Linked DNA regions of Homo sapiens: regions 1, 2, 3, 4, 5 and 6 are each linked to region 7. Evidence: promoter capture Hi-C in human tissues and cell types (Jung and others, 2019). All regions are on one chromosome and are shown on one strand. Each heading gives the region's core, a stretch centred on a gene start or on the middle of the fragment in contact. The rest is flanking DNA. Distances are from core to core; before and after follow the strand shown. Region 1 overlaps FAM168A (family with sequence similarity 168 member A). Region 2 overlaps ARHGEF17 (Rho guanine nucleotide exchange factor 17). Region 3 overlaps FAM168A (family with sequence similarity 168 member A). Region 4 overlaps PPME1 (protein phosphatase methylesterase 1). Region 5 overlaps FAM168A (family with sequence similarity 168 member A). Region 6 overlaps FAM168A (family with sequence similarity 168 member A). Region 7 holds the start of MRPL48 (mitochondrial ribosomal protein L48).

Evidence for each region. Contacts are between HindIII fragments. The study calls those that stand out against the background at their distance.
Region 1: a contact is called between a fragment that was not itself captured here and the fragment with the promoter of MRPL48 in region 7, in 1 of the 25 tissues and cell types used here (thymus).
Region 2: a contact is called between a fragment that was not itself captured here and the fragment with the promoter of MRPL48 in region 7, in 2 of the 25 tissues and cell types used here (neural progenitor cells and thymus).
Region 3: a contact is called between a fragment that was not itself captured here and the fragment with the promoter of MRPL48 in region 7, in 1 of the 25 tissues and cell types used here (lymphoblastoid cells).
Region 4: a fragment that was not itself captured here is called in contact with the fragment with the promoter of MRPL48 in region 7 in 1 of the 25 tissues and cell types used here (dorsolateral prefrontal cortex).
Region 5: a contact is called between a fragment that was not itself captured here and the fragment with the promoter of MRPL48 in region 7, in 4 of the 25 tissues and cell types used here (bladder, heart left ventricle, mesendoderm cells and 1 more).
Region 6: a fragment that was not itself captured here is called in contact with the fragment with the promoter of MRPL48 in region 7 in 1 of the 25 tissues and cell types used here (IMR-90 fibroblasts).

The regions. Positions count from the first base shown.
Region 1 is chr11:73,517,774-73,521,097 of GRCh38, forward strand. All of the region lies in intron 1 of FAM168A (family with sequence similarity 168 member A), which reads right to left. Among named protein-coding and RNA genes, the nearest start is that of FAM168A, 79 kb to the right of the region's middle. The HindIII fragment of the contact is 4,700 bases long and covers 1-3,324 here.
Region 2 is chr11:73,313,084-73,316,637 of GRCh38, forward strand. The region is part of intron 1 of ARHGEF17 (Rho guanine nucleotide exchange factor 17); the gene reads left to right. Among named protein-coding and RNA genes, the nearest start is that of ARHGEF17-AS1, 5.5 kb to the left of the region's middle. RefSeq lists an enhancer at 1,267-1,446. The HindIII fragment of the contact is 4,461 bases long and covers 1-3,554 here.
Region 3 is chr11:73,410,892-73,414,334 of GRCh38, forward strand. FAM168A (family with sequence similarity 168 member A) reads right to left here. Exons shown (of 8, transcript NM_015159.3): 5 at 503-645. Among named protein-coding and RNA genes, the nearest start is that of RELT, 36 kb to the left of the region's middle. The HindIII fragment of the contact is 7,339 bases long and covers 1-3,443 here.
Region 4 is chr11:74,173,006-74,176,214 of GRCh38, forward strand. The region is part of intron 1 of PPME1 (protein phosphatase methylesterase 1); the gene reads left to right. Among named protein-coding and RNA genes, the nearest start is that of PPME1, 3.3 kb to the left of the region's middle. The HindIII fragment of the contact is 4,752 bases long and covers 1-3,209 here.
Region 5 is chr11:73,499,938-73,503,376 of GRCh38, forward strand. The region is part of intron 1 of FAM168A (family with sequence similarity 168 member A); the gene reads right to left. Among named protein-coding and RNA genes, the nearest start is that of FAM168A, 96 kb to the right of the region's middle. The HindIII fragment of the contact is 5,152 bases long and covers 1-3,439 here.
Region 6 is chr11:73,434,571-73,437,853 of GRCh38, forward strand. All of the region lies in intron 2 of FAM168A (family with sequence similarity 168 member A), which reads right to left. Among named protein-coding and RNA genes, the nearest start is that of RELT, 60 kb to the left of the region's middle. The HindIII fragment of the contact is 7,386 bases long and covers 1-3,283 here.
Region 7 is chr11:73,786,599-73,789,811 of GRCh38, forward strand. It overlaps MRPL48 (mitochondrial ribosomal protein L48), which reads left to right and starts at 1,276. Exons shown (of 8, transcript NM_016055.6): 1 at 1,276-1,394. The coding sequence starts at 1,374. RefSeq lists enhancers at 1,210-1,269, 1,410-1,489. The HindIII fragment of the contact is 15,089 bases long and covers 1-3,213 here.

The DNA of each region.
Region 1 (3,324 bases), core at 566-3,065, 270 kb before region 7:
ACGAAGGCAGATACTGTAGCTTTTTAACATAAAATAGGAAGCATTTGCCATTCATACAAGGGTCAATTACAGAAGCAGAAGATTTGAAACCAGTCCTTTCAGCGTTATGTCACAACTCAATAGCAAATGTCTATTCAAAAAAAAAGGAGTGGGGACTGTCAATGATTCCACTTACTGCCTTGCAGGCAGGAGCAAAGGCAATCTGGTTCACTACTGCATTCTCAGTGTCTAACACAGTGTCCAGGTCTTGACACATACTAGTACTTGTTGAAAGCCTGAAAGAATGAAGAAACTACATTTTTAAACAGGTTTTCTTTTTCTATCACTAGTAAGTGACAGAACCAAGCTCTGAACTCCTGACTTTTACACCGTAGTGGTGACTATCCAGGGATATTAGAGAGTAGTATATAGGCCTATAACCAGGCTGAATCAATCTCCCAGGGAAGATATGCAGTACCCAGCTAGGAATAATCTCTTGCAACAGATTGTATTTTCCAAAGATGGTCACAATAACATCTCTGCTATAGTTTGGAAATCTGACCTTCCAAACCTCATGTTGAAATTTGATCCCCTATCCTAAGTGAAATAAAAGAAATTTTAAAATATTAAAAAACATTAAAAATTAAAAATTAATTAAAAATTAAAATATTTTCATATTAAAATATTTTTTAAAAAGAAATCTGATCCCCAGTGTTGGAGGTGGGGCCTAGTGGGAGGTATGTAGGTCATGGAGGCAGATCCCTCATAAATAGATTAATGTGGGGAGGGGGCGTGGAATTGTGGTGGGGGAAAAGTTCTTGCTCTGTTTGTTCCCTCCAGTGCTGGCTCTTAAAACGAATTTGGGCCAGGTGCAGTGGCTCACACCTGTAATCCCAGTACTTTGGGAGGCTGAGGCGGGTGGATCACGAGGTCAGGAGTTCGAAACCAGCCTGGCCAACATGGTGAAACCCCATCTCTACTAAAAAATACAAAAATTAGCTGGGCGTGGTCGTGCGCACCTGTAGTCCCAGATACTCAGGAGGCTGAGGCAGGAGAATTGCTTGAACCCGGGAGGCAGAGGTTGCAGTGAGCCAAGATTGCGCCACTGCACTCCAGCCTGGGAGACAGAGTGAGACTGTCTCAAAAAAAATTGGCACCTCCCTCAACTTCCTCTCTCACCATGTAATTTCACTGGCTCCCCTTCCCCTTCTGCCATGAGTGGAAGCAGCCTGAAGCCCTCACCAGAAGCAGATGCTGATGCCATGCTTCCCACACAGCCTACAGGACCATGAGCCAAAGAAGCCCCTTTTCTTTATAAATTACAGTCTTAGGTATTCCTTTATAGCAACACAAATGGACTGAGACAATCTCCCATCCCACATGCTCTACCACAATGTGATCTTGCCACAACTCCATCAAGAGGTAGATACTATTTCTCCTCCCCTTGAATCTGGGTGGGTCTGATCTTATGAATACCATTAGAATGCAGCTTTTGCCTGGTTTTCATGGGATGCTTCCTAGGAAGGAACCATGAAAAAAAATGTAAGGGTCTCCTTCATTCATTCAGGCTTTCAACAAATATTTGTTATGAGTTCCTACCATGTGTCAGGCCCCAGACATTGTGTTAGGCACTGAGAATGCAATTATGCATTACTCAGCCACTGCCCCATCCTCAGAGTTTACACTCTAGAGGAGGAAAGAGATGAAGGACAAGTGGGACAGACTAATACATCCTATAATTACAACATGTAACAGAAGCTTATAAAGAAGCAAAAAGAGATTTGCTTGAGGATGGCAAGTCAAGAAAGGGCATTCCAAGGCAGTGACAATTAAACAAGCCATAACAGAGGAGTAGTTAGCCATGATGGAGAGAGGAACAGGCAAATATTTTAGGAAAAAGAACAGCATGAGCAAAGTCACTGAAGGAGAAAAAAGCTTGACAGGCTCTCAGAGGAGCTGAGAGATGATGAGGATAGCTGGAACACAGAGAACAAGGGAGAGAGCAGCACAAAGACCAGAGCATGTATGTGTGTGTGTGTGTGCGTGTGCGTTTGTGTGTGTATACATATATATATGTATATTTTTTTTTTCAAGAGATAGGGTCTCACTATGTTGCCCAGACTGGTCTCAAACTCCTGGGCTCAAGTAATTCTCCCACCTCAAACTCCTGAGTAGCTGAGACTACAGGTAGTGACTCTGCCCAGTACATAGATTTTTGAAGCAATATTGTTGGGTTAATCACAGGTCAAGAAGTGTAGCATATCAGATTCACCTCTTAAAATTATAATTTTATTATTATTATTATTATTTTGGAGGCAGAGTCTCACTCTGTCACCAGGCTGGAGTGCAGTGGCACAATCTCGGCTCACTGCAACCTCTGCCTCCCTGGTTCAAGCAATTCTCCTGCCTCAGCTTCCTAAGTAGCTGGGACTACAGGCGTGCACCACCATGCCCAGCTAATTTTTTTTTTTATTTTTAGTAGAGATGGGGTTTCACCATGTTGGCCAGGATGGTCTCGATCTCCTGACCTCGTGATCCACCCGCCTCAGCCTCCCAAAGTGCTGGGATTACAGGCGTGAGCCACCGCGCCTGGCCTAATTTTATTATTGTTTTAAAGCTAGCTTTATATAATTTCAGATATAAAACAAAATAACTCAAGTAATAAATGCTGGTACTGAATACTGTATAACTAGATGTAGTCACATAGAAAGCACATTATGCAAAAATGGGACTGTTTCCAAGACAAAGGAACATATGGTTTGAAGGCCTTCCTGTAATTAACCTCTTTAGAATTTCAGGGCACAGAAAGACAGGGCTGACTTTCTCATTGCCTCATTAATGGTGCATTACATAAATCACACCTGATTCGACCTAATTTTGTTAGCAGTCATCTCAAAATGTTTCACTGAAATTATAATCCTTGAATGAAAAGGATAATCAATGCTGTCACCAAAGGATGCCCTGTCTAAAATGAAACTCAGCCCCTTTATATATTCAGAACATCAATGAGGCTCCCTACATAACCTGTCCAATGGCTTTGTTCCTCTCTTATCAGGTGTCAAGCCATTCAAAAAAAAAAAAGATGTGGTTATATATTATTTTAAACCACTGTCAAACATCTGTTCAATCCCCCAAAGAAAATGGAAATAAGCAGCTAAAAAAAAAAACAGTACTGGTAACGGGTTCCAGGAAACCACCTCACAAGACCAGGGACCTTCCAACAAACACTACCTTAAAGTGTTTTGATCTAGAAAACTGTCTTTTACATTTGTTGAAACCAGTAGGTTCCAAGTGATAAATGAGCTGATAAAGTTTCATTGTGATAAAATAGTTTCAGGAAATATA
Region 2 (3,554 bases), core at 210-2,709, 470 kb before region 7:
TCAGTCACTCCCTTTCCCAGCACTCTCATGGCCCCTCTGAACTCCCTTTCTCTTTGTTTCTCTCTCCTTGTCTCCAGTTACCCCTGGTCCTGGCTCTGGGGTTTCTCATGGAGGCTGCAGAGAGAGCAGGCAGGGAGTGGGGAGCGGGGCGTTTTGAACCTGTCCTTCCTTCTGAGTCCCAGTGAGGGCAGCTCCGGTGCCCCTGAACTCCAGTGCCAGTTCTGAAGGTGGGGGAGGGGAGGAAGACAGCAGGTCCAGTTCTTGTCAGGGGTCTCCTCCCCAGCCTCCTTTCCCATATATCTTTTCTGGGAGCCTTGAAGGCTCAAATGGGGGAGAGGACAGGAGTAAACCAAGGGACTCAGGGAGACTGAAGGTGGGTTGGGGGTGCTTCTAAGAGAAGGCTTTGAGACCCAGAGAGGAGGTGGGAGTTTACAGAACTTCTCCTGCCCCACCTCCCTTCACATTCTCCTCTACCCCCCACCCCTTTCTGGAGCTCTGAGGCGGGACAGATCTGCCATAACATGGGCTTCTCCCTGCCACGAACAGAGGCCTTCTCTGATCTCCAAGCTTTTGCCCACTCCAGGCCTCTCACTTTTCCAGGCCCAGCTTGATGTCCCCTTAGGGGGAGGTAACTGGTGAGTCTGTCATTAGAAGAGCAGGGTGTGAGCCTTGCTCTTCTGATCCCTGTGTGGCCTAGGATCCATCATATCCCTGCTCTGTGCCTCACTTCCCCCTTCCATAAAATGGGGGTAATGGCCTCTGCCTGGCAGGCTGTCTCTTGTGGTGAATGGGTGGTGTGATCATTTCCTCTCTGGTAGCAGGAAAGAAGAAAAATGGAGGCTGCACTGCCCAGCTGCTTCTCAGCCACCAGGCTTGGCTTGTGAACACAGGGCTGGGTCCTCGGGGGCCTCAGTATAACCTGGTGGACTGCAGTAGCCTCTGAGAACATCCATCATCCTCCAATTTCCCACACCCTCATAAAGCCTGGAAGTTCTCCCATCTGCTAGCTTGAACCCCTCCTGCTGTCCCCTTCCTTCTGGCTCCCAGAATATGGGGAGCAGCTGTCCACCCCCTCCTGGTGGCCTCTGTTGAGGAGACAATGTTCCCTTGTTTCAAGCCTGAGGCTCCAGTCATGCTCCCTGGGCCGTGGGTGGAGATGGCGTGGTATGGACTCCAGAATAAGCAGAGACGAGAGGAGCTGTCATTCTTTGCTTCTGGCAGTCCCTGGGGACTAAGGGGATGCCCCCCGCCCCCCAGGCTGTAGGGAGTCCTTCACCCTCAGGTCCACATTCGTGCTCTGTGTGGTGTTGCCCCCATTGCCGGGAAGTGGGAGGCCTGGGGCCAGGCCTGGCTCAGCCTTTGACTCACTCAGACCTGGACAGAGTCATCTTTGTCTCTCAGTTTTCCCATCTGTACAGTGGGAGGTTAGACTGCCTGGTCTGTGAGGCTCAGAAGGAGGGAGTCAGCCTGCAGGGGGTGTCAAGTGAAATGGGAGGAGCCAGCGGTGTGGCTGGAGGGGAGAGAAAGGCAGCTGTCTGCAATAGCTGCATGAACCCAGGAGAACAGGGAGTAACAGTAGCTCATGGGTCATTTATTCCAGGAATGCCTGTCTGTGTGCCGGGAGGTGAGGAGGCAGAGCTGTCAGGCCTCCCTGCCCCGCCCCTCCCACACTCTTGTTACCTCCACTGAGGCCCACTGTAGCCTGGTTGGTCAACAACTCTTCCTGTGAGGGAGAGCTTCCCCCGCCCCAGCCTCAAAGTGCAGAGTCTTGCAGTCCCACCTTCTGCCCTCAGGTCCCTGATACCCGTTTGACACATGCCACAACTGTAGCCCACAGCAGGGGGTGACTTGTCTCTCAGCATCATAGGCAGATGAACTCACGAAATTTTAACATACTGAAATAGCAGTAACAATGACGAACATTTATCAAGTGCTTGCTATGTGCCAGACACTATCTGTTTCATTCTTCAACTGTGAAAGCTGTGGATATCTTACAGTGCAGACTTAGAGTCGAAGACTGTTGGATTCACCCTGAATCCTAGCATATCAGTGTCTTAGAGGTGAGGGGTCCCAAGGAGATTGGCCTGCCATCTGAGTAGCGGGGACAAGTCAGCAGACAGTTGGGAGTGTCACCTCCACATCCCCAACAGCCTGAACACTTTCATAGTGGTTATTTAATTCACCAGGGCCTGGGGTTGGGATGGGAAGAACTTTGAGACCCAGAAAGGGAGAATGCTAGGTCTAAGGTCACACAGCAAGGGCGGGCAGAACCAGGCCCATGCACCAGGACCCTGGCCTTGTTCCTCTCCACTCAGACCCCCTCCCTACCCAGCCAGCTCCCTGCCTTGCTGATGAAGGTCTGGCAACAGCTCTTCTAGTCACCCTTCTTTCTCCCCTTTTGGCGGGGAACCTGCGGGGGTGGAGGTTCTCTCCTTCCCCTCCTTGGCTCTTTGTGTGATTTTTCCATGGAAACTGGTTCTGGGGGGAAAGGAGGAGGTGATTAGGACACTTGGAATTCTGAGCGGTACCAAATATCTATAATTAAATGTCTTGTCACCCAGCAGGAGGGGGTGAGATGAGGGAGGACAGGCAGAAGGGCAGCCCCTTTCCTCTGTTTATTCCTCACATCTCCTCCCAACTCCTTCCTAAGGGCCTGGGCTCTTGGGGGGAACACTGTCCAGGAATGAGTCCTCCCCAGCGAGGAAGGGTTGGGGGATGGACTAGAGTTGAGTCTGACATTTTCCAGCCCCACGTTTCTGGGACCAGCTGGGTTTGGGAGGCGGAGAGGCTGCTGCTAATCCTGTCCCCAGCCCCCTCTCCCCGTGTAGGGACTTACCCCTCCTGCTTCCCTCCCACCCTCCCATCTGTGATCTTTCAGGCTACACATTGCTGCCCCAAAGCAGGGTGGAGGCACCCCCAGGCTTCCTGGGAGCCGAGGCACACAGAGTGTAGGATCTAGAAGCCAACTCGAAGGGGCTTAGGATGTTGAGGGACTAGCCTGGAAACTGGCCGAGGGACTTCCTAGAAGAGGCTCTGCCTAAGCTTGAGCTTGAACACTGAGCAAGAGGGAGAGGCTCTATGAAGAGGGCACAGCATGAGCAGAGGCTAGGAGATGGAAAGAAATATGGCAGGTTGTGTGCAGTAAAAGTTTGTTTCAGAGACTCAGGTGGCCTTTGATAGGGTAATGCATTCATCCATTAAACAAATACTGTCTGAGCAATAAGACATGTCAGGCCTTCTAGGCCTGGGAATACAGCAGCAAACAAAACAAAAGCCTGTCCTTGTGGAGCTTCCAGACTAGGGAGGAGGCCTGTCTGTAAATGGAGATATTCTGTGTCAGGGAGTGGTAGGGTCCGAGAAAAAAATAAAGCAGGATAAGGGAGTAGAGAATGACAGGGTGGGGTACTTTAGATCAAGAGATCAGGAATGCCTGTCTGAGGAGGTGACATTTGAGCAGAAGCCTGGAGGAAGTGAGGGAGCAGGTCAGGTGGCTGAGGGAAACAGCATTCTGGGCAGAGAGGAACAGCAGATGCAAAGGCACTGAGGTGGTTGAG
Region 3 (3,443 bases), core at 770-3,269, 370 kb before region 7:
ACAGAAAGAGAGGGTAACTTGTCCAAGGTCACAGAGGATACTGGTGGCAGGGCCTGTGTACTTTCCTCCTCCCCACTCAGCTCACAGACTGAGGAAGGGTAGATGTGGGGGTTAGGGAGAAAAGACTAAGACGTTGGGGTCTCACCTTGACCAACCAATAGCTCGTGGTGTAACCTTGGACAAGTCATTCCCCTCTTTGGGTCTCAGTTTCCTCACTTGTTTAACAAAGGAGTTGAGCTAGAAAATCTCTGAGGGCCTTTGTCCTCTGACATTCTGGGCTCTGTTAATCTAAATGACTTCATGCCTACCCCCTCTAGGGGCTGAGGTGGAGTGAGGGAGTAAGCAGACTGCAGGGATATTGCTTCAGTGATACAACAAGGACGGCTAGCCAGAGCCACAAACCATCCTCTCCTTCCCTCACTTCCTCACCCTACCCCACCACACTGCACCCAGGCTGAAGGCTCCTCTACCTGCAGAAGAGGTGGCTTTGACATGTACCTACCTGGGCATACAGATTCTGCTGGGGGTAGGCACTTCTGATTGGATACATGGCCGTCTGATAGGGGTTGGGTGATGGGGAGTAGGGGGGTGGAGCAGTGTTACTCTGGGTCGGTGGGACCTTGTATGGTGTCCCCGCAGTATATCCTGTACCAAGGCAATAAGAGAGACTTCCAGTTAGTTGGCAGAAAAGCATTGCTAGAAGGCAGCAGGTCCCAGTCACGACTCCCCAGACAAAGATGGGCTGAATCCAGGCTGGAAACAGAGATGAGAACAAACAGAGAACAGGGCTCCACCCAGAAAGCCCTGGCCCCAGAGGCAGCTCCCTCAGTCCTGGTGCACAGGGCTGCATGGATGATTCTGGGCATCTTTTCTTTCTCTGGGTCTCAGGGCTCTCATCTATAAAATAAGAGGCTAGAACCACATGGTCCCTTTTAGCTCTGACAGCCTGGGATTTGGAGCTGTCTGTGTGAAATGGGCAGGTGCACAGAGATGGAAACCCTCAACTCACTTGCTCTTTATTGCTACTCTACTTGCTTTTCTGTCTTCTCACACAGAATCCAGGGTATCTTTTTGCTGCTGTTTCTGTCTTTCTCTCTTTTGCTCTATTTCTTTTTCTCCTTATCTCTCTCTCTCTCACTCTCTTCTTGGACTTCCCTCCATCATGTTCCCTCCCCTCCCCACCAAGTTTGAAGGTGAAAACCCCATACAAAACACCATTCGGAGACCCTCATCTTCTGGGATGCTGACCATACAAAACACCATTCGGAGACCCTCATCTTCTGGGATGCTGACCATACAAAACACCATTCAGAGATCGTCATCTTCTAGGATGCTGAAAAACTTTGCTCTGCAGAGTTGGCTCCTCCTTCTCTCCTGGGCTCTAGGGGAAGGCCACCTCTGCCTGAAAATACCTGAAGTCAGGGATCACAAAGATTCACATCAACCTGGAACCTGGGCCATGTCTGTCCCTCAGCAGGATGGACAAAAGCTGGAGCTAAGAATGGGGCTGAGAAGTCAGGCCCCAAGAAGCTCACAATTGCCCATGTAAATAAACTGTGCTGCCTTTTAATCCTCCGGAAAAGAGTGACAGATCCTTTGTTCACAGAAAAAAACTTGAAACATGAGTCATTCAGGAACAACACTGTCTCCTTTTAGAATCACAAAATGGAATCGTTCTACGGAACCCAAGTGATCATCAAGGGACTCCAATCCTTGGACTTTACACAAGGGGATCCTGGGCTCAGAAAAGGCAAGTCTTTTTAATAACTTCTCCTAAAGACTCTAAACTCTTCTAAGTTGAAGGGACAGTGCCTGAGGACCTAGGCTTTGAAGCCCTGCTGGGGAGGTGCTGAGGTGGCTTCTTTCCTGTGGTTCCATCTTGGGTAAGTCTAGCAGACCTCACTGAACCTCTCTGGGCTTCAGCTCTTTCACCTATAAGATGCTCACCAAGGACCCTTTCAGCTCCGAGGTGCTGTTTCTATCATATAATAAGGGACTAGGGGCAGAGTGGAGGGAGTGCTTTATTGGAAGAGAAGACATCTAGTCTTCAGTCCTGGCTTTCCCCCTAATTTTTCATGACAATTGTCAAGTCTTTGGGCCTTAGTTTCTTATTTTGTAAAATCAGGTGGCTAAGAATGAAGATCTCTTCCTAAACAAAAATTCCATGGTTCTAAAGATCCTGGGTCTCTTCTACCTTAACCCCAAGTAAAAGCAAACTACCACATGGTCACAAATCTTTCTCAGTCCACATCACACCTCTTTGGCTTAGCACCCCCCTGCCCCTGATGACTCAGGAGGATAGGAGAGCTGCTGCACAGCTGCCACAAAAGTCAGCCTGTTCCTGGATTCACGTCATTTATTTTTTCACCTGCAGATCCATAGTTTTTTCCATAGTTTTGTGATCAAATATGCTTGGGAAATAAGTAACAATGAGGATAGAATGGAAAGTACATATGAAAGAGAGGGAAGCATGTTAAAGAGAAGTAGAAACTAACTGGAAGTGCAACTATGAGCTGAGTGAGAAGTCTAGAGCAGATTTCTCAAAGTTTCTAGATTATGGAGCTAATGATGAAATGTGGTCATAGGAGGAGAAGCAGATACTGTGGGGGAAGACAGGGAGACTAGCTTTGCAGATGTCTAGAAGGAACCATCTGATGTGTACGGAGACACAATTTACTTATCTATAAAATAAAGGGGTTTTATAGATAAACCAGAGATAGACATTTCCCAAATGTGGACAACGTACTATAGATCCCAAGGGATCTTAATAGTTGTTTTTGCCAAAGAAAAGGAAACAAAAGAGTTCTATAGTCCCATATGTAAAATAGAGATAAACAGTTAAGATTTTGTTTTTATTCCATGACCCTGAGAAGTTTTTAAAACAATAGGATGGGCTGGATGTGATGGCTCTCACCTATAATCCCAGCACTTTGGGAGGCCAAGGCAGGAGAAGCACTTGAGACCAGGAGTTTAACACCAGCCTGGGTAACACAGACAGACTACATCTCTAAAAAAAGAAAAAAACTTAGCCAGGCATGGTGGCTGGTGTAGTCCCCAGCTACTTGGGAGGCTGAGGCATGAGGATGGCTTGAGCCCAGGAGTCTAAGGCTGTTGTGAGCCATGATCACAACACTGTACTTCAGCCTGGGTGACAGAGCAGGACCCTGTCTCTTAAAGAAGGTGGGGAGGTGAACTGTGAATCTCTAAGATGGGAGTATGTACAAGACTGTATTTTCCAAATTAATTTTACCACAGAATCTTTTATTCATACTATAAACATTTAAAACAATTAAATTTCAGCCATGTTTTTTGTAATTGAAGCTAGTTTTGGTAAACAAAGTTATATTGTAACACATCCACATCCATTCATTTACATATTGACTAAGGCTACTTTCCTGCTACAATGGTAGTCACTGACAGAGAGCATATGGCCTTTTTAAAAG
Region 4 (3,209 bases), core at 20-2,519, 390 kb after region 7:
AAACCAGGGAAGGAAACTAAGAATTGAGTGGAGACCTGCTATGATACGCAGTAGAAAAATGAGAAAACTTTAGCAGGAGGAGATAGAGAGATAGACGCACAATAGAGGTAGAAGGCTACATAGAAGGTAAAGTGAAGATTGTTTTGGCTTTGGAAGACAGAAAAGTTGGACTATAACATGAATAAAGAGAATTTGGAAACTGACCCATAACATTATTTGGGAAAACTAACCTGGAGTTTAATATTAATGTAACATTAATTGTTGTTAAATATCTTAGTTGCTGCCTTTCTTAAAATAAATTTGATTTTTCAGTATACCAGCACCCTTCTATACAAATACATAAGAAAATCAGATTTTTAATAATTATACATTCCTTAGATAAGCTTAATTAGAGCTCAGCTTCTCATCTTGGAGAAACAAGTTCTCTGAAGATTGAAGAACTGAATGAAGATACTGAGAGAAAAAAAAAGGAAAATCTGCTGATTAGAAGATTGTATAATTGTTAGTAATTTATCGTTTTTATTTTTTATTACTTTTCATTTTATTTTTTTTTAGAGACAGAGTCTCACTCTGTTGCCCAGGCTAGAGTGCAGTGGCACAATCTCGGCTCACTGCAACTTCCACCTCCCGGGCTCAAGTGATTCTTGTGCCTCAGCCTCCCAAGTAGCTGGGATTACAGGCATGCACCACCACGCCCGGCTAATTTTTGTATTTTTAGTAGAGAGGGGATTTCGCCATGTTGGCCAGGCTGGTCTTAAACTCCTGGCCTTAAGTGATCTGCCCCACTTGGCTTCCCAAAGTACTGGGATTATAGGAGTGAGCTACTGTGCCTGGACAACTTACCTTTTTAAAAAGATGCTTTGGTCTTCTTGGTTTAGGTTAACTGCTTATCCTGGAAAAGAAAGTTCTTTAGAAAGGCCTTTCTTTATGATAGTATTGTGAAGAGAAGAGCATATATTGGCGAATATTTGTGTGGTCCTCAAATGGCTTATTTTCCCGTATCTTTCTTTTCTACTTTATTGGTATATAAGCAGGCTTCATCTAAGTCTCATGGTAGTAATAATATAGATTCTCTTTCTCCTTAGAATCATAAAGCTGAGAGAAAGCATAGACATGGTCTCATTTCACCACTTCATGTAGTTGAGGAACCCAATATTCAGAGAGTTCTGTATTCTATAAGGGAATGTATTAATAAATGAGGGAACTGAGACTCAGATATTCCTAAGGTACCCTAGAAGCTTAGCGGTAGGGCCGTTAAGGACTAGGACTTGGGTCTCTTGACTGTGAGACCCATTGTGTATTTTGGAGTCATAATTGTCATCTGGGGATACTTATTTTGAGTTGTGTATCTTACTCATTTGCATATAATCTAGGATTCAGTCTTTTTCTTCAGTCGTAATTTATGAAGTCTCACACCAATTTCAAAGCATTCTTTATGTCTCCTTATGCTTACTTGCTTTTTTCTTAACTTCCATTCTTCCACTCTATCTATGTTACTCACAAGTTAGTCCTGTTCTCTTGATAGTCTCTTGTGTGGCTTACTCTTAACTATTTTTCATGATCTCTTGCCTTCAATTTCACTAAACATTATTTAGGCATGTTTGCATATTCAGGGTGCATATTCTGAGTTGGTGATTTTTCATGAGTTTCCATAATTCAGTTTTTCAGATTAGATTTAGTAATTCCAAAGTATTGTTGGATAATTTAATAATAGCAATTTTTAAAGTAAGTACTGTGTGCCAGACATTGTAATGGTAACTTTATGTTATTTAATGTGTCCACAGACCTGCATGGTGAATATTTTCCTGCATTGTGGGTAAAGACATTCAGACCCAGAGATTAAAAGTAACCCAACTAGTAGGTAGCAGAGCTAGGATTCAATCTAAGTTTAGTCTCTAGAATCCATTCACTTTTCAGTACACTAATATTTTCTCTTGGGTAAGGCCTGAAATCCTGGTGTCACTCTTCCTTTTAATAGATGCCAATGGATGTTGCCAAAAACAGTGGTTTTGAACTTCTTTATTAAAGCTTTTAGAGCTACTCTGACTAAAGTAGATTTGAGATCCCTATTTGCTTTGCACCCCTGGTGTGCTTGAGAGAAGTATCTTTTGAAAGTCACTGCTTTCGTATATACTATTACTATTAGAGGAACTATAAAATATTAAAGCCATTCATTATTCAACGTGTTTTTGGTTTATCAGTAGTTGTACTTTTTGGCCAGGTGTGGTGGCTCATGCCTGTAATCTCAGCACTTTGGGAGGCCGAGGCGGGTGGATCACCTGAGGTCGGGAGTTCAAGACCAGCCTGACCAACATAGAAAAACACCGTCTCTCCTAAAAATACAAAATTAGCTGGCGTGGTGGCACATGCCTGTAATCCCAGCTACTCAGGAGGCTGAGGCAGGAGAATCACTTGAACCTGGGAGGCGGAGGTTGTGGTGAGCCGAGATCGCGCCATTGCACTCCAGCCAGGGCAACAAGAGCGAAACTCCATCTCAAAAAAAAAAAAGTTCTACTTTTCTATTATTATCTCTTAAATTCCTTTTTTTTTCTTTTGCAAGAGATAGAGTCTTGCTGTGTTGCCCAGGCTGAAGTACAGTGGCTTTTCACAGGCATAATCTTGGTGCATTACAACCTCAAACTCGTGGGCTCAAGCAGTCTTCCCACTTCATCCTCTTGAGTAGGTAGGACTGAGGATACATGCTAGCATGCCCAGCTCTGTAGTGATTTAACTGACATGTATATAGTAGTCCCTTTTTATATTCTATGAGGTAAACTAGGGCAGGAGTTAATATTTTCTTTTAATAAATGAGAAAACTGAAATGTTCATTGACTTGCCTAAGATCACAGAATCATTATGTGGCAGGAACAACATTCAAACCCAGGACTTCGTATTTTTAGTCCATTGTTCTTTCTATAGCTTGCATTGAAGGGTTTGATATTTGAAGTGACAAAGATCTAAGTTTGAAGCCCAACTTAGGTATTTACATTGGTCGAGTCATTTAACTTCTCATAGTCTATTTTCTTATCTCTAAAATGAGAATACTTCTGCTTACCTGAGAGTGCTGTGAGAATAAGATAATACATAAAAAGCACTTATAGTTCCTGACACTGACACATAAGCTCTTAAAGAATGATAGCTAGTAGATAATTATACATTGAGAACTGTGAAGAAGGTTCATAGTTTATGTGGAAGCTCTCCTTTCAGTT
Region 5 (3,439 bases), core at 718-3,217, 290 kb before region 7:
GAAAACACACTCCAGGATATTATCCAGGAGAACTTCCCCAAACTAGCAAGAGAGGCCAACATGCAAATTCAGGAAATACAGAGAACACCATTAAGATATTCCACAAGAAGATCAACCCCAAGACACATCATCATCAGATTCTCCAAGGTCACAATGAAGGAAAAACTGTTAGGGCAGCCAGAGAGAAAGGCCAGGTCACCTACAAAGGGAAGCCCATCAGTCTAACAGTGGACCTCTCAGCAGAAACTCTTCAAGCCAGAAGAGATTGGGGGCCAATATTCAACATTCTTAAAGACAAGAGTTTACAACCCAGAATTCCTTTTTTTTTTTTTTTTTTTTGAGACAGAGTCTTGCTCTGTCACCCAGGCTAGAGTACAGTGGCATGATCCCAGCTCACTGCAACCTCTGCCTCCAGGGTTCAAGGGATTCTCCTGCCTCAGCCTCCCAAGTAACTGGGACTACAGGTGCCTACCAGCATGCCCAGCTAATTTTTGTATTTTTAGTAGAAGACAGGGTTTCACCATGTTATCCAGGCTGGTCTCGAACTCCTGACCACATGATCCACCCACCTTGGCCTCCCAAAGTGCTGGGATTACAGGCATGAGCCACTGCACCCAGCCTCAACCCAGAATTTCATATCCAGCCAAACTAAGCTTCATAAGCTAAGGAGAAATAAAATCCTTTCCAGACAAGCAAATGCTGAGGGATTTCATTACCACCAGGCCTGCCCTGCAAGAGCTGCTGAAAGAAGCACTAAATATGGAAAGGAAAAACCAGTACCAGCCACTGTAAAAACACACCAAAATATAAAGACAAATGACACTATGAAGAAACTGCATCAACTAGTATGCAAAATAACCAAACAGCATCATGATGACAGGATCAAATTCACACATAACAATATTAACCTTAAATGTAAATGGGCTAAATGCCCCAATTAAAAGACACAGACTGGCCAATTGGGTAAGGAGTCAAGACCCATTGGTGTGCTGTATTCAGGAGACCCATCTTATGTGCAAAGACACACACAGCCTCAAAATAAAGGGATGGAAGAAAATTTACCAAGCAAATGGAAAGCAAAAAAAAAAAAAGCAGGGGTTGCAATCCTAGTCTCTGACAAAACAGGCTTTAAACCAACAAAGATCAAAAAAGACAAAAAAGGGCATTACATAATGGCAAAGGGAACAATTCAACAGGAAGTGCTAACTATTCTGAATATATATGCATCCAATACAGGAGCACCCAAATTCATAAAACAAGTTCTTAGAGACCTACAAAGATACTTAGACTACCACACAATAATAGTGGGAGACTTTAACACCCCACTGTCAGTATCAGACAGATCAATGAGACAGAAAATTAACAAGGATATTCGGGACTTGAACTTAGCTCTGGATCAAGTGGACCTGGTAGACGTCTACAGAACTCTACCCTAAATCAACAGAATATACATTCCTCTCAGTGCCACATGGCACTTATTCTAAAATCAACCACTAATTGGAAGCAAAACACTTCTCAGCAAAAGCAAAAGAACTGAAATCATAACAAACAGTCTCTCAGACCACAATACAATCAAATAGAACTTAGGATTAAGAAACTCGCTCAAAACCACACAATTTCATGGAAATTGAACAACCTGCTCCTGAATGACTCCTGGGTAAATAATGAAATTAAGGCAGAATCAAGAAGTTCTTTGAAACCAATGAGAACAAAGAGACAACGTACCAGAATCTCTGGGACATAGCTAAAGCAGTATTAAGAGGGAAATTTACAGCACTAAATGCCCACATCAGAAAGCTAGAAAGATCTCAAATCGACACCCTAACATCACAATTAAAAGAGCTAGAGAGGCAACAGCAAACTAATCCAAAAGCTAGCAGAAGGCCGGGCGCGGTGGCTCAAGCCTGTAATCCCAGCACTTTGGGAGGCCAAGGCGGGCAGATCACAAGGTCAGGAGATCAAGACCATCCTGGCTAACACGGTGAAACCCCGCCTCTATTAAAAGTACAAAAAATTAGCCAGGTGTGGTGGCGGGCGCCTGTAGTCCCAGCTACTCAGGAGGCTGAGGCAGGAGAACGGCATGAACCCCGGAGGCGGAGCTTGCAGTGAGCTGAGATTGCACCACTGCACTCCAGCTTGGGCGACAGATCAAAGCTTTGTCTCGAAAAAAAAAAAAAAAAAGGCTAGCAGAAGACAAGAAATAACTAAGATCAGAGAAGAACTGCAGGAGCTAGAGACACAAAAAACCCTCAAAAAAAAAATCAACAAATCCAGGAGCTGGTTTTCTGAAAAAATTAACAAAATAGATAGACTGCTAGCTAGACTAATGAAGAGAGAAGAATCAAATAGACAAAATAAAAAATGACAAAGGGGATATCACCACTGATCCCACAGAAATACAAACTACCATCAGAGAGTACTATAAACACCTCTACACAAATAAACTAGAAAATCTAGAAGAAATGGATAAATTCCTGGACACATATACCCTCCCAAGACTAAACCAGGAAGAACTCAGATCCCTGAATAGACTGATAAGAAGTCTGAAATTGAGGCAGTAATTAATAGCCTATCAACCAAAAAAAGTCCAGGACCACACGGATTTACAGCCGAATTCTACCAGAAGTACAAAGAGGAGCTGGTACTGTTCCTCCTGAAACTATTCTAAACAACTGAAAAGGAGGGACTCATTTTATGAGGCCTCATTTTATGAAGCCATCATCATCCTGATACCAAAACTGGGAAGAGACACAACAAAAAAAAGAAAACTTCAGGCCAAATATCCCTGATGAACATCAATGCAAAAATCTTCAATAAAATACTGGCAAACTGAATCCAGCAGCACATCACAAAACTTATCCACCACGATCAAGTCGGTTTCATCCCTGGGATGCAAGGCTGGTTCAACATATGCAAATCAACAAACATAATCCATCACATAAACAGATCCAAAGACAAAAACCACATGATTATCTCAATAGATGCAGAAAAGGCCTTTGATAAAATTCAACATGGCTTCATGTTAAAAACTCTCAGTAAACTAGGTATTGATGGAACATATCTCAAAATAATAAGAACTATTTATGACAAACCCACAGCCAATATCATACTCAACAGGCAAAAGCTGGAAGCATTCCCTTTAAAAACCAGTACAGGACAAGGATGCCCTCTCTCACCACTCCTATTCAACATAGTATTGGAAGTTCTGGCCAGGGCAATCAGACAAGATAAAGAAATAAAGCATATTCAAATAGGAAGAGAGGAAGTCAAGTTGTCTCTGTTTGAAGACAACATGATTTTATATTTAGAAAACCCCATCATCTCAGCCCAAAAACTTCTTGAACTGATAAGCAACTTCAGCAAAGTCTCAGGATATAAAATCAATGTGCAAAAATCACAAGCATTCCTTTACACCAACAATAGGCAAGCAGAAAGCCAA
Region 6 (3,283 bases), core at 255-2,754, 350 kb before region 7:
AGGCCAGTGTGGCTGGAATGGAACAAATGAGGGGGCAGTAGTAGTAGAGTAAGTCAGAGAGGTAAAGGGCTGGCCAGTTCATGTAGGGCTTTACAGGCCACTGTGAGGACTTAGACTTCTATTCTGAGTGAAATGAGAAGACCTCATAGGGTTTTCAGCAGAAGAATAACATGCTTTGACTTATGTTTGAAAAGGGTCACTCTGATTGATGTGTTGAAAACAGACTATAAGCGGGTAGAGAAGCATAGCAATCAGCTGAGAGGCTACTGCAAGCTCCTGGCAATAGATGTGGGATTCAGGGAAATAGTGGAGGTTTGAAGAGACGTGACATCCCAAGAACCTTCACATACTTTGCCATACTGTTTTCTAGAAAGACCATCAATTTGTACTTGTTCTAGCAGTGTATAAGTGCCTGTCTCACTGCTTCCTGCAGTTGTTAAATGCTCACTGGTATTCTGACTGACAATGAAAAGCTGGTTTTAAAAGTCAAAGATTAAATCCCTAAATCCCTAAAAGCTTCTTTGGGATTTGTAAATACTGGAGCTTTAATAATGTATCTTTGTTAATATGCCTTTCCCTAAATCCTTTCCAATTCCAAAGAAAATTCATCTCTTTACCCCCTGATCATTTTCTGATTTTAGAACTGAGGTAGCTAACTTGTTGATTAATTAGCAATCTGGAGGTGTGCTACTTCTCAAGAAGAAAGTCAGGGGTCTAATCTGGGAAGCCAGGTGATCCAGTCTCATAGCCAAAATCTGTACTCAGCTTCATGTGAGAAATTGTGCAGCCACAGGTAATCACACTCCTGTTTTGTCATTTCAGATGTCTTTCACTTTAGGGGCAATTATAGGATGTTCCTTCAATGTTTCCAAGTGGAATTATTTTTAATTCACTTGAATTTGGCAGATATTATATAATGGCAGCATTACAGGGAGCTTTATTTGGTCCTCCCTCCCTCTCTTTCCTTCCTTTCTTACTTCTTTTCTTACCTTCCTTCCTTCCCTTCTTACTTTACTTATTTATTTATTTATTAATTACAGGATCTCAAGCATTGCCTGAGTCCAGGAGTTTTATAACTGTTAATACATTATGTCTGGTCAGGTATGGTGGCTCACACCTGTAATCTCAACACTCTGGGAGGCTGAAGTAGGAGGATTGCTTGAGCTCAGGATCTCTACAGTCTTGTGACACATGACTGTACACTGAGTTCTTGAAAAGACATACCGTCTCTATTTCACTCATTTCTCATACAAAAGATATTTTCGCATTTGCTTTTCATTTGAGCCTCAAATCAATCCTAATGTGATTTCTCCCATTTTATAGCTAATCAAATAGAGGTTGAGAGGTGAAGTAACTTTCTGGTTAAGATTATTCAGCAAGTCAGTGGTCGAATTGGGAAGGGAATCCCAAAAGCAATGCCTTTTCCACACCTACCAAATAATTATCACTTTGTCCTTAGAAACAAGCCTGCCCCTTTTGTATTTGTATTTTTTGAAGGTCAAGAGTGAAGAGAATAAATGGACACAAGTTAGCTTTTTTCCTTTATATCCTAAAGGCTGCAGTAGTGATCAGGTATTCTGGGATTTTGATGTGTACATTTTAATTGCTTTATAGATGTCAATACAATCTAAGCCTCTTTTCTTGTTGGTACTAGGATTAGGACTAAAGAAATGTAAAGCTATTTTTTGATTAATATGGAAATTAGAAATTACTTTCAACAGAAATCAGGGGACTATTTCTGAAAATACTTTACCTTTAGGAGCTTAAAATAGCAGAGTATCAAAAGGCCAGAGGAAGACAAACTCCCTGGCTCAGAAAGACAAAGAGGCTTACTTCTTTGTGAGCAGGAGAATACTTAGGCAATGAAGACATTTTAGGTCTGAAGCTCACAATTAAAAAGAAAACTGCCCTGCAAATGACCCCCTAGGGTGATCAAAACCAAAACAATGACCAAAAAAAAAATCTTTATTCTCTCAAGATAATAAAGAAGAGGGCAAGAGGAAGGATGTAATTTTGAATCTGTATTATGTTCTGGCCACTGTGCTAGGCACTTCTATATCTGATTTAATCTCTACCCAAAGTCAACAAAATATATTACTAGTTCCATTTTAGAGAGAGGATATTAAGACTTCTCTTACAGAGCTAATAAGTAGAGAGTGGAGACAGAACCCATTCCTACCAACCTCCCTGCCTCTCCTCAAAATGAGTCTACTCAGAGAAAATCTCTGGATTTGGCTGCCATTTACTTTGCCAAAATTCTTTTACTTTATCTTCAAAACCAAGGAAAAAAGGAAATTACTCTGGAGAGTCAATTTGGTCAAAGATGGCTGTGTTTAAGAAAAGAAATAAAACAACAACTACTGTTTCCACTCAGTGGAAAGGTCATGGTTGTGTTATTGAAAAGTATCACAGGCACTGAATTATAGAGTTGGAAGGGGTATTAGAGGTGATTGAGTCCAACTTGTCACTCAGCACAGGAATACCCTTTATAGTGGCACACATGACTGGCAGCATAGCCTCTGCCAGCATACTTTTTTTTTTTTTCCAAGACGGAGTCTTGCTCTGTCTCCAGGCTGCAGTGCAGTGGCGCTATCTCGGCTTACTGCAACCTCCGCCTCCTGGGTTCAAGCAATTCTCCTGCCTCAGCCTCCCAAGCAGCTGGGATTACAGGCACATGCCACCCCACCTGGCTAATTTTTGTATTCTTAGTAGAGATGGGGTTTCATCATGTTGGCCAAGCTGGTATTGAACTCTTGACCTCGTGATCCACCCACCTCGGCCTCCCAAAGTGCTGGGATTTACAGGTGTGAGCTACCACGCCCGGCCACTCTTTTTTTTTTTTTTTTTTTTTGAGACAGAGTCTCACTCTATCGCCCAATCTAAAGTGCAGTGGTGCGATCTCAACTCACTGTAACCTCTGCCTCCTCGGTTCAAGCAATTCTTCTGCCTCAGCCTCCCGCAGCATACTCTTCTAATGATGGTATGCTCAGAACCTCTTCAGTGAGTCAAAGCACCGACTGGAGAGCTCTGAAGTTAGAAAATTCTTCACTCTGAGCTAAAAATCTGACTTATTAAGAATCTTACCCTGAACATTTTTTCAGCCACTGGAGTGCAGAGGCTGAGGCAGGAGAACTGCTTGAACCCAAGACACAGAGGTTGCAGTGAGTCGAGATCGCACCATTGCACTCTAGTTCCTGGTCCTAGTTCTACCCTCACAGAACATGTCTGTTTCCTCTCCTCCTGGACAGCTTGCTAGAGATATGAAGATATCCATGATTCCTCC
Region 7 (3,213 bases), core at 26-2,525:
TGGCCTCCCAAAGTGCTGGGATTACAGGCATGAGCCACCGCACCCGGCCATGTATCTTATTAGATTGTATTTACCTGGACTAGACAAGGAAAGAAACTCTCTGGCTGCCAACCTGCCCTTTTGCAAACCTATAGTCACAGTCCCATAAAATAGATGAAGCACAGGCACGGAAATGAAACAGCTCACCACTTATATAACATTATGTTAACTAGGTACCTTCTTCCTGTCTCTGTTCCTCATCTGTGAAATGGGTATAATGATCCTCAGCCTCATAGGGTTATTGGAAAGACTAAATGAACCCATACACCCATAAAGAACCGACCTGGCACATACTAGCATTTGATTGATTTTTTTTTTCTTATTTAAAATTTCACTTCTAAAACCCCAATAGCATTTATTAGGCAATAATCAATCACTGTACTGGAGGAGGTATGCCTGGTCCATTATATTTCCAAGCATAATTAATTGTCGTATCTGTGTTACCTCAGTACTTTGCACACAATTCTGGTATTTCACTTACCATACTAGATACTAATTATTTGTTACTAGATACTAATTATTTTTTGCTATTATTTTGATTGAGTTCCTCAAGGACTGAGATCCTGACTAATTTATTCCAGCATCTAGCACAGGACGTGGAAATCTGACTTCTAAACTCAATTTAAGAGATGATTGGCTGGGCCTGGTGGCTCACGCTTGTAATCCCAGCACTTTAGGAGGCCGAGGCGGGCGGATCACCTGAGGTCGGGAGTTCAAGACCAGCCTGACAAACATGGAGAAACCTCATCTCTAGTAAAAATATAAAAATTAGGCGGGCGTGGTGGCGGGCACCTGTAATCCCAGCTACTTGGAGACAGAATTGCTTGAACCCGAGAGGCGGAGGTGGCAGTGAGCTGAGATCGTGCCACTACACTCCAGCCTGCGCAACAGAGCGAGACTCCGTCTCAAACAAACAAAAAAGTCAGATCTGTGCTAGACGCTGAAAGGAATTAATCAGACAGGATCTCAGTCTTTTAAGAACTTTCAAATACAGAGAAGAGGTGGTAACAAATCATTAGTGTATAATATTGTAAGCGAAAAATTAGAATTGTGTGCTAAGTACTGGGGTAACACAGAGATGGTAATTAATTCTTTCTGGAGAAACAGCAGTGAATGTGACAACCTGAGTGAGGGTGGAAAGCAGGAGAATTTCTAGACTCTGAATTTCAGAAGCTTCCGGAACTAAAATGATGTGGAAGTTGAGTGAGTCTCGGTGGGATATTGCTGCTGCACCTGGTCAAGGCCGTTCCTTCAGTGTTTTCAGACGCCCTGGGAACGCGGCTGCAGGGTCCGGTCTTCGGTTTGCACAGCTAGAGGCCGCGCAGCAGCAAAGGATGAGCGGAACCTTGGAAAAGGTAACGTAGATTCCACGCACGCGGGGCGCGGGGAGATGGCGGACGGTGCAGAGAGGGGAGATGGCGGAGGGTGCAGAGCGGGGAGGTGGCGGCGCGCGGACATCCGGGGATGAGACACTGGGGCGCCCAAGGTCCTTCCCAGCAGCACATGCGGCTGCCTGGCGTTGAAGGGGCTGAGCAGATTCCTTTCCACCCGGGGCGAACTCTGCCGAGCCGACCCGTGCCACGCCCACACCACATGCCACTCTCTCCACCCAGTTTCTGGAAAAGGGAGAGCTCTGCGATGGGAATCACGACACCAGGATACGGTCCCGATTAACTGTGTGACCTTGGGCAGGTCATTTTATATTTGCATTCAGTTATCAACTTCCAGAATTTTTTCTAAGAATGCAGTTTTGACTTGCTGAACTGATGAGGATGTGAAGCTACCTGGTAATAAGGAAACAGCAGTAATAAACTAGGTTTTTGTTCTTTTCTTTCTTTTTTTTTTTTTTTTTTTTTTGACGGATTTCGCTCTGTTGCCCAGGCTGGAGTGCAGTGGTGCGATCCCGGCTCACCACAACCTTCGCCTTCCGGGTTCAAGCGATTCTCCTGCCTCAGCCTCCTCAGTAGCTGGGACTACAGGCGCGGGACACCATGCCGGGCTAATTTTTGTATTTTTAGTAGAGACGGGGTTTCACTGTGTTGGCCAGGCTGGTCTCGAATTCCTGACCACGTGATCTGCCCGCCTCGGCCTCCCAAAGTGCCGGGATTACAGGCATGAGCCACCGCGCCCTGCAATAATTAACAACATTTTCGTTTCCAAAACCTTATTTAAGTGACTGTCATAAAACCGTATGAACCACTATAAATGTGTTCCTGGGCTTTCTCCCGTTCCCTTAACAGATTTAACAGATTTCATTTGTGCTCTTTCAATTGTATCATGCTGCTTAGATTAATGACTCATTTTAGCAATTTATATTAAAATTTTGTTTTAGGCATTAATTGTGGCAACTATATTTCCATGATTCATAGGTCAGCATGGTCGTTGCAGCTCATGGGTCTACCTGTGGTTACCTTGGGGCTGCCCTTGAATGTGTGAGGGCCCACGCCTCACTTCATCCTTTATGAAACAATTCACTTGTTCACCTTAGCCAGTTTGTAAGAATTTGGCCAAATATGGTGCCAAGATAATAGAAAAAAAAATCAGAAAGTTTCAAAATTCCATTGTTAAAGATGGTCACACTGGTGACTACACTCCTTGATTTGCCTTGGTTCCAAGAAGGGCTAAAAGGGAGGGATTATTTTTCAAGGAATACTATTTCCAACCATTCGGTTCTCCATGTTTCACCATATTGCTCAGGCTGGTCTGGAACTCCTGGAAAAGAGCCCATGGAAATCTGTCATTAAGGCCAGCATCTGACATGGGTATATAAGGCCTCTCGACGTCTGATGCCACTGTTCTCTTCCCGACTCCTTAGTTGCTTTAGTCAGCTAACCTCGTCATTATTTGCCAAATGTAAGTCTGTCTCAAAGTGTTAGTTAATACTTTACATTTATAAGGAAGGTCATGGGATTTGTCAGACAGTTCTGTCTCTTGTTATGACCTTGGGCAAGTTATTTAACTTTACTGCTTCTGTTTCCTATCTGTAAAATGCAGATGATGCCCACCACATGGAATTGTAGAGACTATAGGGAATAATGTAAACAGGAATATTTTGTAAGGAATGAAGGATGATGCAAATAATAATATTGATATTGTTCTATAGTTAATAAATTTTCATTTACACAATTTCATTTGATCTTCACAATATCACGAGATAATCCTGGCAGATGCAAC